Regions from separate parts of the Homo sapiens genome. Here region 1 is linked to region 2. Evidence: promoter capture Hi-C in 16 types of primary human blood cells and fetal thymus (Javierre and others, 2016). All regions are on one chromosome and are shown on one strand. Each heading gives the region's core, a stretch centred on a gene start or on the middle of the fragment in contact. The rest is flanking DNA. Distances are from core to core; before and after follow the strand shown. Region 1 holds the start of RAB39A (RAB39A, member RAS oncogene family). Region 2 holds the start of ALKBH8 (alkB homolog 8, tRNA methyltransferase).

Region 1 (5,148 bases), core at 1,430-3,929, 360 kb before region 2:
TGCATGCCTGTAATCCCAGCTACTCGGGAGGCTGAGGCTGCAGAATTGCTGGAACCTGGGAGGCGGAGTTTGCAGTGAGCAGAGATCGCGCCATTGCACTCCAGCCTGGGCCACAAGAGCGAAACTCCGTCTCAAAAAAAAAAAAAAAAGTTAAAAAACAATCATCTCTATCATCTATTTAGCAGAAAGGTCTTTAAAGTCTAACAAATTAATTATCATTTAATTTCTTGTCAATAAGTTGAGCTACTTATTTATTTATTTATTTATTTTTGAGACTGAGTCTGGCTCTGTCACCCAGGCTGGAGTGCAGTGGCGTGATCTTGGCTCACTGCAAACTCTGCCTCCCAGGTTCAAGCGATTCTCCTGCCTCAGCCTCCTGAGTAGCTGGGACTACGGGCACACACCACCATGCCCAGCTAATTTTTGTATTTTTGGTAGAGACAGGGTTTCACCTTATTGGCCAGGCTGGTCTTGAACTCTTGACCTTGTGATCCACCCGCCTCAGTATCCCAAAGTGCTGGAATTACAGGCGTGAGCCACCCTGCCCAGCCAAGTTGAGCTACTTTTAAGGAACTAATTAAACACAATAAGATTTTATTACCCATGTGTCTTGTAGTTGCAACTCAAAGTAGCTGTTAGAAGTTTAAGACATAAAGGTTTTTATTGTATTCACTTCAGAGGGGGGGTCAAGAGCTAACAGCAAATGCTTTTTTTCTGAGCCTGATATATCGCAAAGTTTACCTCTGATTGAGATCACATGTGAAGGAATTGGCAATCAACTTAGAATGGTAAAACTGGAAGGAATGTTAGAGATCACGACGACTTTCATTTTACAGATGAGGAATCAAACATTTGAAAAATTATTTTAATAAAAGGAGGCTTCTTGAAAAGGAAAAACATTTTTCATGGAATTCTACGTGTTGTACAAATCCAATCAATAATCTTTTAACACCTCTCTGAAGCGCTGGCCTTACCATCTTTCCACTTCACACACACGAAAACTAAGGTATAAGCAAGCTAAGCAGTTCACTCATTATCTCTATGAATCAGCATCATTGCTAGGAACGGAAGCCAAAACTTTGAATGTTGGACCATTCTCACAGATGTAGGCTGATCTCATTCGCAGTGATGCTGGCTGGGGGCGAGGGGAAGCCATGTTTGGGAAGTCCCCTCATGGAACACTGCATTTCACAAGCAGAGTACTTGCTGACTAACGCAAAATGCTTCCTTAAATGAGTTCCAATGGATAATGCAGTCTTTAAGAAACAGAACAGTACAATACATCAGTTTCACCATCTTCCTCTAAAACGAAGTGCCTTTGAATCCTAGACATTTAAAATTTGCTTTAAACCTGCTTCCATCTCAAATATTCAGGAAATGCATATAATTTCATTTACTTTTTATTTACACAAGTCGCCTTTGTGAAACCCTTCATGTCCCCAGCGGATATTTAGGAGGAGACTATTCATTTGGATCCCTCCTTCTGTCTTTAGAAATATTATCACCCTGGAACGTTAAGTACTGATCATAAGCAAAATTAAAGTTCCTGGCGAATCTCAATATATGTCTTTTTCCCACCAAACATGACAAACTTCTAAAGACAACTCAACCCTTCACATACACACACACACACACACACACCCTCAGCTGTGCCAGTGTCCCTGATGTTGCATCTAGTTAACCTACAAGACCCATTCCCACGGGTCATGACCCAGTATTTCTGATGACCACATTCAGTGCTGTGAGGTGCCCAAACCATTACCGCATCCACCTCTCTGTGAACCATGCCCAGTGAGCTCATGCAGGAACCTGGGTTGGAGCGCTCCTTGCTGTGAAGCTAAAGGATCCATCACGAATCTGGGAACCCTCCCTCGCGGTTCTCCCCGGCCACACAGCGTGGGAGCCGCTGGGTTAGGGTAGGAAAAGGGGCGCCTGCTTGGAGGAGGGTGGTCGGGTCATGCTGTGCGCAGCCAGGGAAGCCGAGTTTGGGAAGAAGGCAGCCGGGGAGCCGGAGGGGATAAAAATACCCACAGGGGCTGAAAGAGTTGGGGAAGAGGGGGCGGCGAGGACGACCCCGGTTCAGGCGGGAAAGGAAAGATGGAAAGGGGGCGCAGGAAATGGGCGCCAAAGAAAGAAGTGAGAAATTGCGGAGGAGGAAGTCGTCCCTGGAAGAGGAGGGGCAAAGGGGAAGCGAGAATGGAGTGTTTGCACTTTCGAGAGGGAAGGGCCAGAGCCTCTCCCGACCAGGGCCGGCGGGGCGGACGCCTGGGGAAGGGGCGTCCGGGCGGGCTGAGGGGGCGGCGCGGTGCCCAAGGTCCCCGGGGTCCCTACCTGAACCGCTCCTGTCCCGCCGTGTCCCAGAGCTGTAGCTTGATCCTCTTGCCCGGCTCGATCTCCAGCAGGCGGGAGAAGAAGTCCACGCCGACGGTGGGGTCGCAGGCGGGGGAGCGCAGCCCGGGGAAGCGGCCCTGGGTGAAGCGGTGCAGGAGGCAGGACTTGCCCACGGTGGAGTCCCCGATCACGATGAGGCGGAACTGGTAGATCCAGATGGTCTCCATCGCTCACGTGCCCCGCTGGCTCCCGGGCCGCCCCACCCGCGGGCTAAGTTCGGCGGCGGGAACTGTCCTTTCAGCACCTCGCGGGCGCCCGCCCGCCGCCTTCCAGCATATTCCTGCGGCTGCGGCCGCCGCCTGGTGCCCGCCCTCTCGGGAGAGAGAGGCGGGGCCAGGCCCGGCTAGGGGCGGGGCCTCTGGACGGGGGCGGGGCGGGGGCGGTGGCGCGTGGGAGGGGGAAGCAGGTTTGCTGCCGCGAACTCCCGCCCCTGACCGGCTGCAAATCACTCTCCCTCAACGCTCACTGGGCGCCGGCAGGAAAGTGGGCGTGGCGGGAAGACGTGACAGCAGCAACAACCAAGGAAAATGAAGCAAGGTCTCAACTCCGGGAGGGTCAGCCAATGAAAAGTGAGAGTCGTTTTCTTACAGGCGTCAGGGCGGGTTGGTCAGATTAGGGCTCTGATTTTGGAAGTCCCTGAGGCCATAACTTGGGTCATTGCTTTGATTCCTCTTTTTTTTTTGTCCCCCAGGCTGGATTGATGTGGTGAGATCTCGGCTCATTGCAGCCTCAAGCGATCTGCCCACCTCAGCCTCCCAAGCAGCGGGGACCACGGGTGTGAGCCATCACACCTGGCTAATTTTCTTCTGGGTTAAAAAAAAATTTTTTTTTTAGAGATGTGGTCTCGCTATGTTGCTTAGGCTGGTCTCAAACTCCTAGGTTCAAGCGATCCATCCACCTCAGCCTCCTGAGTAGCTGGGACTACAGGCGGGGGCCACCACATCCCGCTAATTTTCTAACTTTTTGTAGAGATGGGGTCTTGCTGTGTTGCCCAGGCTGGTCTCGAACTCCTGACCTCAAGTGATCCTCCAGGCTCAGCCTCCCAGTGCTGGGATTACAGGTGTGAGCCACCACACCCTGCTTTCTTGTCTTGATGAGAGCCACCTCCAAGGCATTTTAAGGTGAAGGAGTTTTGGGCAGGATTGAAATAAATTTGCACAGCCAGTTCTGGGTGCTTCTAGCAAGGGCTCTGGCTGTTGCTGCGTGCTGCCACTGTCTGTTCTTCACTGCTATGAGTACCACAGAAGAGTGAGAAACGCCAAGTATCATCCCCATACCCTCTGGGGCCCTCCAACCCTGGGGACAGTGGCAAAAAAAAAAAAAAAAAAAAAAGCCGGGGAAATGTTGAGAAGCTCATGAAATTTTCAGCTCTCCTTGGTCTCCATTGTTTAAGTCAGAAAAAAGCGAACAGGTGGTCTCTTAGCTCATGTCTGATTAATGATGTAAGTAAACAAAGCAGAACTTAAATTCTGGTGAGATCTTACTACTTTCTTGTGCCTTTCCTCAAATTGAGTAATAGTGACGTCAAGGTTTATCTTTAAAAAGTGAAACAGTTTAAAAGTGTGTGTTAGGCCGGGCGCGGTGGCTCACGCCTGTAATCCCAGCACTTTGGGAGGCTGAGGCGGGTGGATCACCTGAGTCAGGAGTTCGAGACCAGCCTCAACATGGAGAAACCCCGTCTCTACTAAAAATACAAAATTAGCCGGGCGTAGTGGTGCATGCCTGTAATCTCAGCCACTCGGGAGGCTGAGGCAGGAGAATTGCTTGAACCCGGGAGGCAGAGGTTGTGATGAGCTGAGATCGTGCCATTGCACTCCAGCCTGGGCAACAAGAGCGAAACTCCATCTCAAAGAAAATAAATAAATAAATAAAAGTGTGTGTTTAGGCCGGTCGCAGTGGCTCACGCCTGTAATCCCAGCACTTTGGGAGGACGAGGCGGGCAGATCGCCTGAGGTCAGGAGTTCGAGACCAGCCTGGCCAACATGGCGAAACTTCGTCTTTATTAAAACTACAAAAATGGCCGGGTGCAGTAGTTCATGCCTGTAATCCCAGCACTTTGGGAGGCCGAGGTGTGTGGATCACAAGGTCAGGAGTTCAAGACCAGCCTGGCCAAGATGATGAAACCTCCTCTCTACTAAAAATACAAAAATTAGCCACGCACGGTGGCAGGCGCCTGTAATCCCAGCTACTCGGGAGGCTGAGGCAGGAGAATCGCTTGAACCTGGGGGGCAGAAGTTGCAGTGAGCTGAGATGGTGCCACTGCACTCCAGCCTGGACGACAAAGCAAGACTCCTCGTCTCAAAAAAAAAAAAAAAAAAAAAAAGCTACAAAAATTAGCCAAGCATGGTGGCACATGCCTGTAACCCCAGGTACTTGGGAGGCTGAGGCAGGATAATCGCTTGAACCCGGGAAGTGGAGGCTGCAGTGAGCCGAGATTGTGCCATTGCACTCCAGCCTGGGCAACGAGAGCAAAACTCCGTCTCAAAAAAAAAAGTGTGTGTTTACCAAAACAAAATTTTCAACAATTCCACTTTTTTCTTGTGCACATCCCAAATTCTTATATCGATATTCATCCCTATTTCCTTTGCTGTTTTGGAGGAATTGGTGTTGGCTGTGTTTAATCCCCTTTCACTTATCTTTTTGGGGCTTTTCCCAACAGTTGACTTTTATTTCATACCTTTTATACCTTGAATCTCCCCTTCTCCAGTGGCTTCTGCTCCTCAGCCTATAAACATGCTCAATTATCTACAATTCTAA
Region 2 (5,901 bases), core at 1,545-4,044:
AATTGTATATGTATTCACCTTTTTCTGGAGATATTGAGACATGGATGGGCAGCAGATAATGGGAAATGAAGGCTTGTAACTCAGGAGAAGAAGATAAATGAATAATCACTTAACAGCTAATCTCTGTTTGGTGTTTTATTAATTATCACGTAAATCTCAACAAAATAAATGCTGTTTTGTAGTTTTGATTTCAGGTCATACTCCAATGCCCCCATATTCTTTAGAAACCACTCTGGTTTCTAAAGGGAAGTGTTAATCAAGTTTAGCCTAAAGCTGCCTCCTTACATATTTAAGTTCAGCCTAAAGGTTTTTCTGTACATCGTGAACAAGTGGAGGAGTAAACCAACCATAGCCCACACCTGTGCCAATCGCTGAGTTTTGGCCAATCAAATGTAGCCAATTGTTTGAACAGTGTTCAAATAAGGCAAACACCAACCTGTAACCAATAACAGCTGTTTCTGCACCTCACTTCTGATTTCTGTACATCATTTCCTTTTTTTTTTTTTGTCTACAAATCCTCCACCACATGGCTGTGCTGGAGTCTCTCCAAATCTGCTGTGATTCTGGGGGCTGCCCGATTTACGAATCAAAAGTTCATTGCTCAATTAAACTCCTTTAAATTTAATTTGGCTAAAGTTTTTCTTTTAATAGAAGCCAGGGCTGAAGATAAAGATTAGGGAATGATTCACAAATCTCTTTATAACTCTGGGGAGGGCAGACAGGAAGAGACTAGAATAACAGAAAAGAGTCAAACTCAAAATCTGAGGGATTGCCTATATTTAATTACGGACAGAGTGAGAGAAACTAGTGGAAAATTCTGAAAGTAAGTGATCAGATCGTATAAAGAGAATTAAAAGAGAGGTGCAGAAAAAAAGTTTTAAAAGCTTCAGCACCTTAAAGCAGGACAAATACTGAGATGAAGTAATTGAATTTGATCAGTAAGAGATAAGAGGATATTTTACACTGTTATCCAGTTTGGTAGACACCGGCCACTTGTGGCTACTTAAGTTTAATTGAAACTAAAATTTAAACATTCAAAATTCATTTCCTTAGTCATACTAGCCACATTTGAAATGCTCATAAGCCACACGTTAACTAGTGTCTATTATGTTGGACAGCTCAAACTATAAAATATTTCCATCATTGCAGAAAGCTCTATGGGGATGTGTTTTTGAAAGCATCCAGTAGTGCAGAAGCAGAATTGCAATGGGGAGATTTCCTGTGTGTCCTCTTATACTCATGTAGCTTGCAATGTCTGGTGGATTTGACCTCTCCAGCTTGCACTTGCCTCCTCATTTTTACTATTAAGTTTTGGTCTCACCCTTTCTTTCCTAGACTATTGCAATGCTTGCCTATCTGCCTCTTCTGTTCTTTCATGTTTGTAACCTATTCTCCACACAAATCATTCCGCCACTCAACAGCACTCTTTTTTCACTGCCACTTTTCCTGGTCAGCCAGCTATTTTATTGTTAGTCCACTGTGGTGCACTGCAGATAGGGGCCATTGTATCAACAACATGGGAAGGTGATTCCTCTTCCCCTACACCTTTCCCTCCCTGCACTCACATAGCTCATAAACCAATGCAGGTAGAAGGATTATGGTACATTTATATAACAAATAACAGAGCAGGAACAACTGCTAATCATCACCCTCTCCTTTGTCTTTTACTTATGATCTGTTACCAGCTCTTTTTTCTTTCCCTCTGCCACTACTGGGCTTGTTAATATTTCGTTACTTTTCACTTCATCAGTCATCTTCTAGTCTCTCCTCCCACTTGCCACAAGAAGCTCTGGTCATATCATTTCATTTCTCTAACCTTCCTCCCTGCAACTCCCACTCTGCAGGCCTACAGAATTCTGTCTTGCTTCCTTCACCATTCTTCCACACATCTTTCTATTACTCTGTGGTACTCACCATTCCCCTGGCACATTCATGCATATTCACTTCCTTCCCTCCCGCCCATGCAATGCCATCTTTCAGACCCCAGGATCCTCTCCCATATCTCTGTGAACCCTGAATATCTGAGACAGGTCTCAGACAATTTAGGAAATTTATTTTGCCAAAGTTAAGGACGCCCGCCCGTGACACAGCCTCAGGAGGTCCTGATGATATGTGTCCAGGGTGGTCGGGGCACAGCTTGGTTTTATACATTTTAGGGAGACATGAGGCATCAATCAATATATGTAAGATGAACATTGGTTCCGTCCAGAAAGGAGGGACAAATTGAAGCAGAGGCGGGCCAACTCAAAGTGAGGAGGGGGCTTCCAGGTCGCACGTATTACAGCTGAGAGACAAATGGTTGCATTCTTTTGAGTTTCTGATGAGCCTTTCCAAAGGAGGCAATCAGATATGCATTTATCTCAGTGAGCAGAGGGATGACTCAGAGGGATGACTTTGAATAGAATGGGAGGCAGGTTTGCCCAAGCAGTTCCTAGCTTGACTTTTCCCTTTAGCTTAGTGATTTTGTGGCACCAAGATTTATTTTCCTTTCTCACCTCTAATAAGATTCAGGAGGAAATATGCACGAAGAATAGAAGGTGCCAGGGGACATTGCTGAAAGACCAAAGGGCCCAAACCTGTTTGACCTTGTCCATTTGGAGAGCAACAGATAAAAATATAGCTGCACTACCAATTATTACTACTCCCCCCAAAAAGACAACTGAATTTTCAGTGTAACAGACAGCACTTTACAAAGACACTTGGTCGAAAAAGGGTCACTCCCGGGCTCTGGGAGGCGAAGAGGACTGTGGGAGCGCTGTTCGTTGTCCCGCGGGCTCATGGGAAATGTAGTGCAGTTTTCTCCAACATGGCCGCGCCCAGGGGAGATGGCGTGCAAGTATCCGCTGCGGTGTTCTGGTGCTAGAGTGGAGAGGCTGGCAAAGAAGAAGGCACACGCATGGTGAGAATCCGGCCTGAGCCGAAGCGGAGGTGTGTGGCACTTCTTACTGGCGGGCATACGGGCAGCAAATCACCGCTTCCTCTTTTCAGCCTCTTCCGGTCTTCTCTATCCGCCTTGCCAGCTAGGGCTGAGAACCTAGGGAAAGGGGATGGATCCCAGAGGCGCCCTTGGTGCAGTGTGGGCAGTAGGGTGTCTGCGTTGGGTGGTTCTCTCAGTGTTTAGGGTGCATGTGTTTGTGTTTGGTTCGGGCGCTCACGTGGTGCCTGTGTCAATCTTCTGTTTTCTTTGGGGTTGGAGAGGACGGTTGCAACATGGGGCGTGTTAGTGTGGCGCTTCTGGGGCTTTTCTGACCGGTGACAATCGGTCTGATTGCATCGATGCAAAGGCAGTGCTGATGATCTGATCCCTTGCGCAGCTGAGTCTTCCTGTGCTCTTATTTGAGCAATCCCTGCGACTCCTGGACCTCTGGTAGCGTCAGCCTGTTATTTTGATAGATTTCATTGAATATTTATTGTCAGTTGTATGTCAGGCACCAAGTCTGTGCCCTTAAATAGATGACAGTTTTCTGGCCGAAGCCCAACACAAACAGGCAATTATAATACCATGTGAGAACTCTAGAGATAGAGGTCCATGCTAGGTGTTAATGAAAACGTTGAAGAAGGCCACCAAACTCAGAATTCTGGAGGAGGGGAGGTTTAGGAGGTAAGACAGCAAAGTCGATTTAGGTTTATTCGACAAATGGTTATTGAGTGGCTGCTAGGTGCTAAATCCTGTTTAAGTGCTGGGTGCTACAGGGTGAACAATAGAGACAAAATCTCTACTTCATGGAGTGAGTGTTCTTTATTCAGTTATGGGGAAAGACAGAATAAACAAATTAATGAGAGTGTAAGAAAATATGTAGTAAGTGTTATTCAAAGAGTTAAAACGGGGTGCCGTGACAAGTGATGGGGTGAATTTTTTTCTAAAAATTTTAAATCTTTATTTTCTTTTTAAATAGATGATGCAGTTTAAATAGCTACTAACTTCAAAAGTCATGAAAGAAGAAAGCTCCCTTTCATTCCTTTACTCATCGATCCATTTTCCTTCCCTGGAGGCAACCCATATCACCAATTTCTTGTGTGTCCTAAAGATTTATATGTAAACTCTGTATACCAGTGCCGTACGTTAAAATTGGGCCTCGTTTGATAGGAAGTTAGATTCTTTCTAATCTTTGCTATTAATTATTAGGTTGTGCAAAAGTAATCATGGTTTTTGCATTTTTTTAAACATATAAGTATAGGAACATTTGTCTATACTGCTTGTTTCATAATAGGCTCTCTATTATTCAAGGAGGGCATGATGTACATACTACTATTACCACGTAGGGCAATATCTAGTAGGATATATTGGCTTTAAACTCACTAACAAGCAAGTAGCAGAGCATGCATAATCTCCAAACTTTCATTATCCCACAGAGAGTACGCTTAGGCTGGAGCTGGCTGAACCGGACTCAGCATGGCTAGTATCATAGTTAATAGTGACTTCACTCCAGTAATGTCACAGGGAGCATCCAAGTATCTGTGCATTAGTGGAAACTCTGGCCAGGGAAGTGGCTTTGTCAGAAGGGGGCACCTCCAGACCTCAGCAGCTGGTATCAGCCTATCCTTGTTGAGATGACTCAGATATGTTGGGCCAGCACATTGCCTAGCCACTGGAATGGTGGAAAACTGAGCCTCAAAGGCCATTTAGTGTCTTTCTTCACGTGCAATAATATTGCATGACTGAGGGAGAGAAAAAGGAAAGGGATGACAAAAATGTGGTTATGAGGCTCCACCTGCTGGTGCTGGACTCTTAGTGGCAGACATTTTAAAAAGATATATTTAGCATCGTTTCTTTCTCATTCCTTCTTTGCAGTGTTTGCTCATGTGAAATATTAAAAATTCTGTAGTGCAGTCATCCCTTGTTCTCCATGACATACTGCAAAGTTGCTGTTCCACAGATGAAGATCTTGAAATGGAATGGCTCTAAAATAGCTCCTTTGAAGGGCCTCAGATATTCTTTGTTTTGTTAAGCCATTTTGATCTGCTGCTTCTGAAAATCAACAGTAATAAATAAATAATAATAAATAAATTTAATTCTAAGAAAGCTATGGGATAGGCACTATTATTTTTATCCCTATTCCTAGATAAAGAAACTGGAACACAGAGCTATATAACCAACTCATCTAGGATTATACAGCTAATAATCAGTGGTTGAGCTGAGATTTGAACCTGGAACATGGACTCCTAAACACTGTATTATATTACCTCATAGCACTGAATGAGGCTCTGTGGTAACTAAGAAAAGTGTGATTTAATCCCGCCTTCAGAAAGCTCACAGTTCAGTGGAAGGGGACAGATACTAAAACAAATAATTATAATTAATGCAATGTTAGACATGTCCATTCACTTATCCCCTTCCTGTCTTAATGACGACTGACTCCTAAACCTTTTTAACCTCAGTTCCTTTCCTAGGAGCCACTTTATTTTGTCACTTGCCAGCCAGACATTGCAACTCTGTATCTCACAATACCTTAAACATTATTCTATCCTAAATATGACTCATTACCTCCTATACTGAGCAGCTCTTCCTGAACCTCCTCCTGACTTTCCAGTTTTGAAGTGGTAGCACTCATCTCTTAGTCACTCAGCCTCTAACTGGTTAACAAGTAATCTTTGATTCCTGTCTCCCTCATATCTGGGTAGTCATCGAGGCCTCTTGATTCCGCCTGAACTTTTCACTCACCCTTCCTCTTTCTCCTCTCCCCCTATTTCGCTTCTTTCTGTTGCCCCCAGCCTAGATCAGGCCAGCATTTCTAATTAACAAGCTGGATTATTATTATTATTTTTTTTACCTCTCATCTCTCTGCTATGCTGCCAGCCAGCCTGCCTGCCTCACTGGCCTTACATCCTAGTATGTACCCCCTGTGCTAGGAAGCTGGACTGCTGGCATTTTAAGAGACTTGGCATTTGTCTTCTATACTA

What was found. The method cuts DNA at HindIII sites, captures the fragments that hold promoters and counts their contacts. A CHiCAGO score of 5 or more calls a contact.
Region 1: the fragment with the promoter of RAB39A here is called in contact with the fragment with the promoter of ALKBH8 in region 2 in 1 of 17 cell types (monocytes); the score reaches 6.3 in monocytes.

What each region holds. Positions count from the first base shown.
Region 1 is chr11:107,925,979-107,931,126 of GRCh38, reverse strand. It overlaps RAB39A (RAB39A, member RAS oncogene family), which reads right to left and starts at 2,679. Exons shown (of 2, transcript NM_017516.3): 1 at 2,332-2,679. The coding sequence starts at 2,558. RefSeq lists silencers at 2,204-2,423, 2,454-2,943. The HindIII fragment of the contact is 18,255 bases long and covers 1-5,148 here.
Region 2 is chr11:107,562,628-107,568,528 of GRCh38, reverse strand. It overlaps ALKBH8 (alkB homolog 8, tRNA methyltransferase), which reads left to right and starts at 2,794. Exons shown (of 12, transcript NM_138775.3): 1 at 2,794-2,928. RefSeq lists enhancers at 494-573, 2,502-2,561, 2,408-2,924, 2,632-3,121, 2,925-3,443. The HindIII fragment of the contact is 7,705 bases long and covers 887-5,901 here.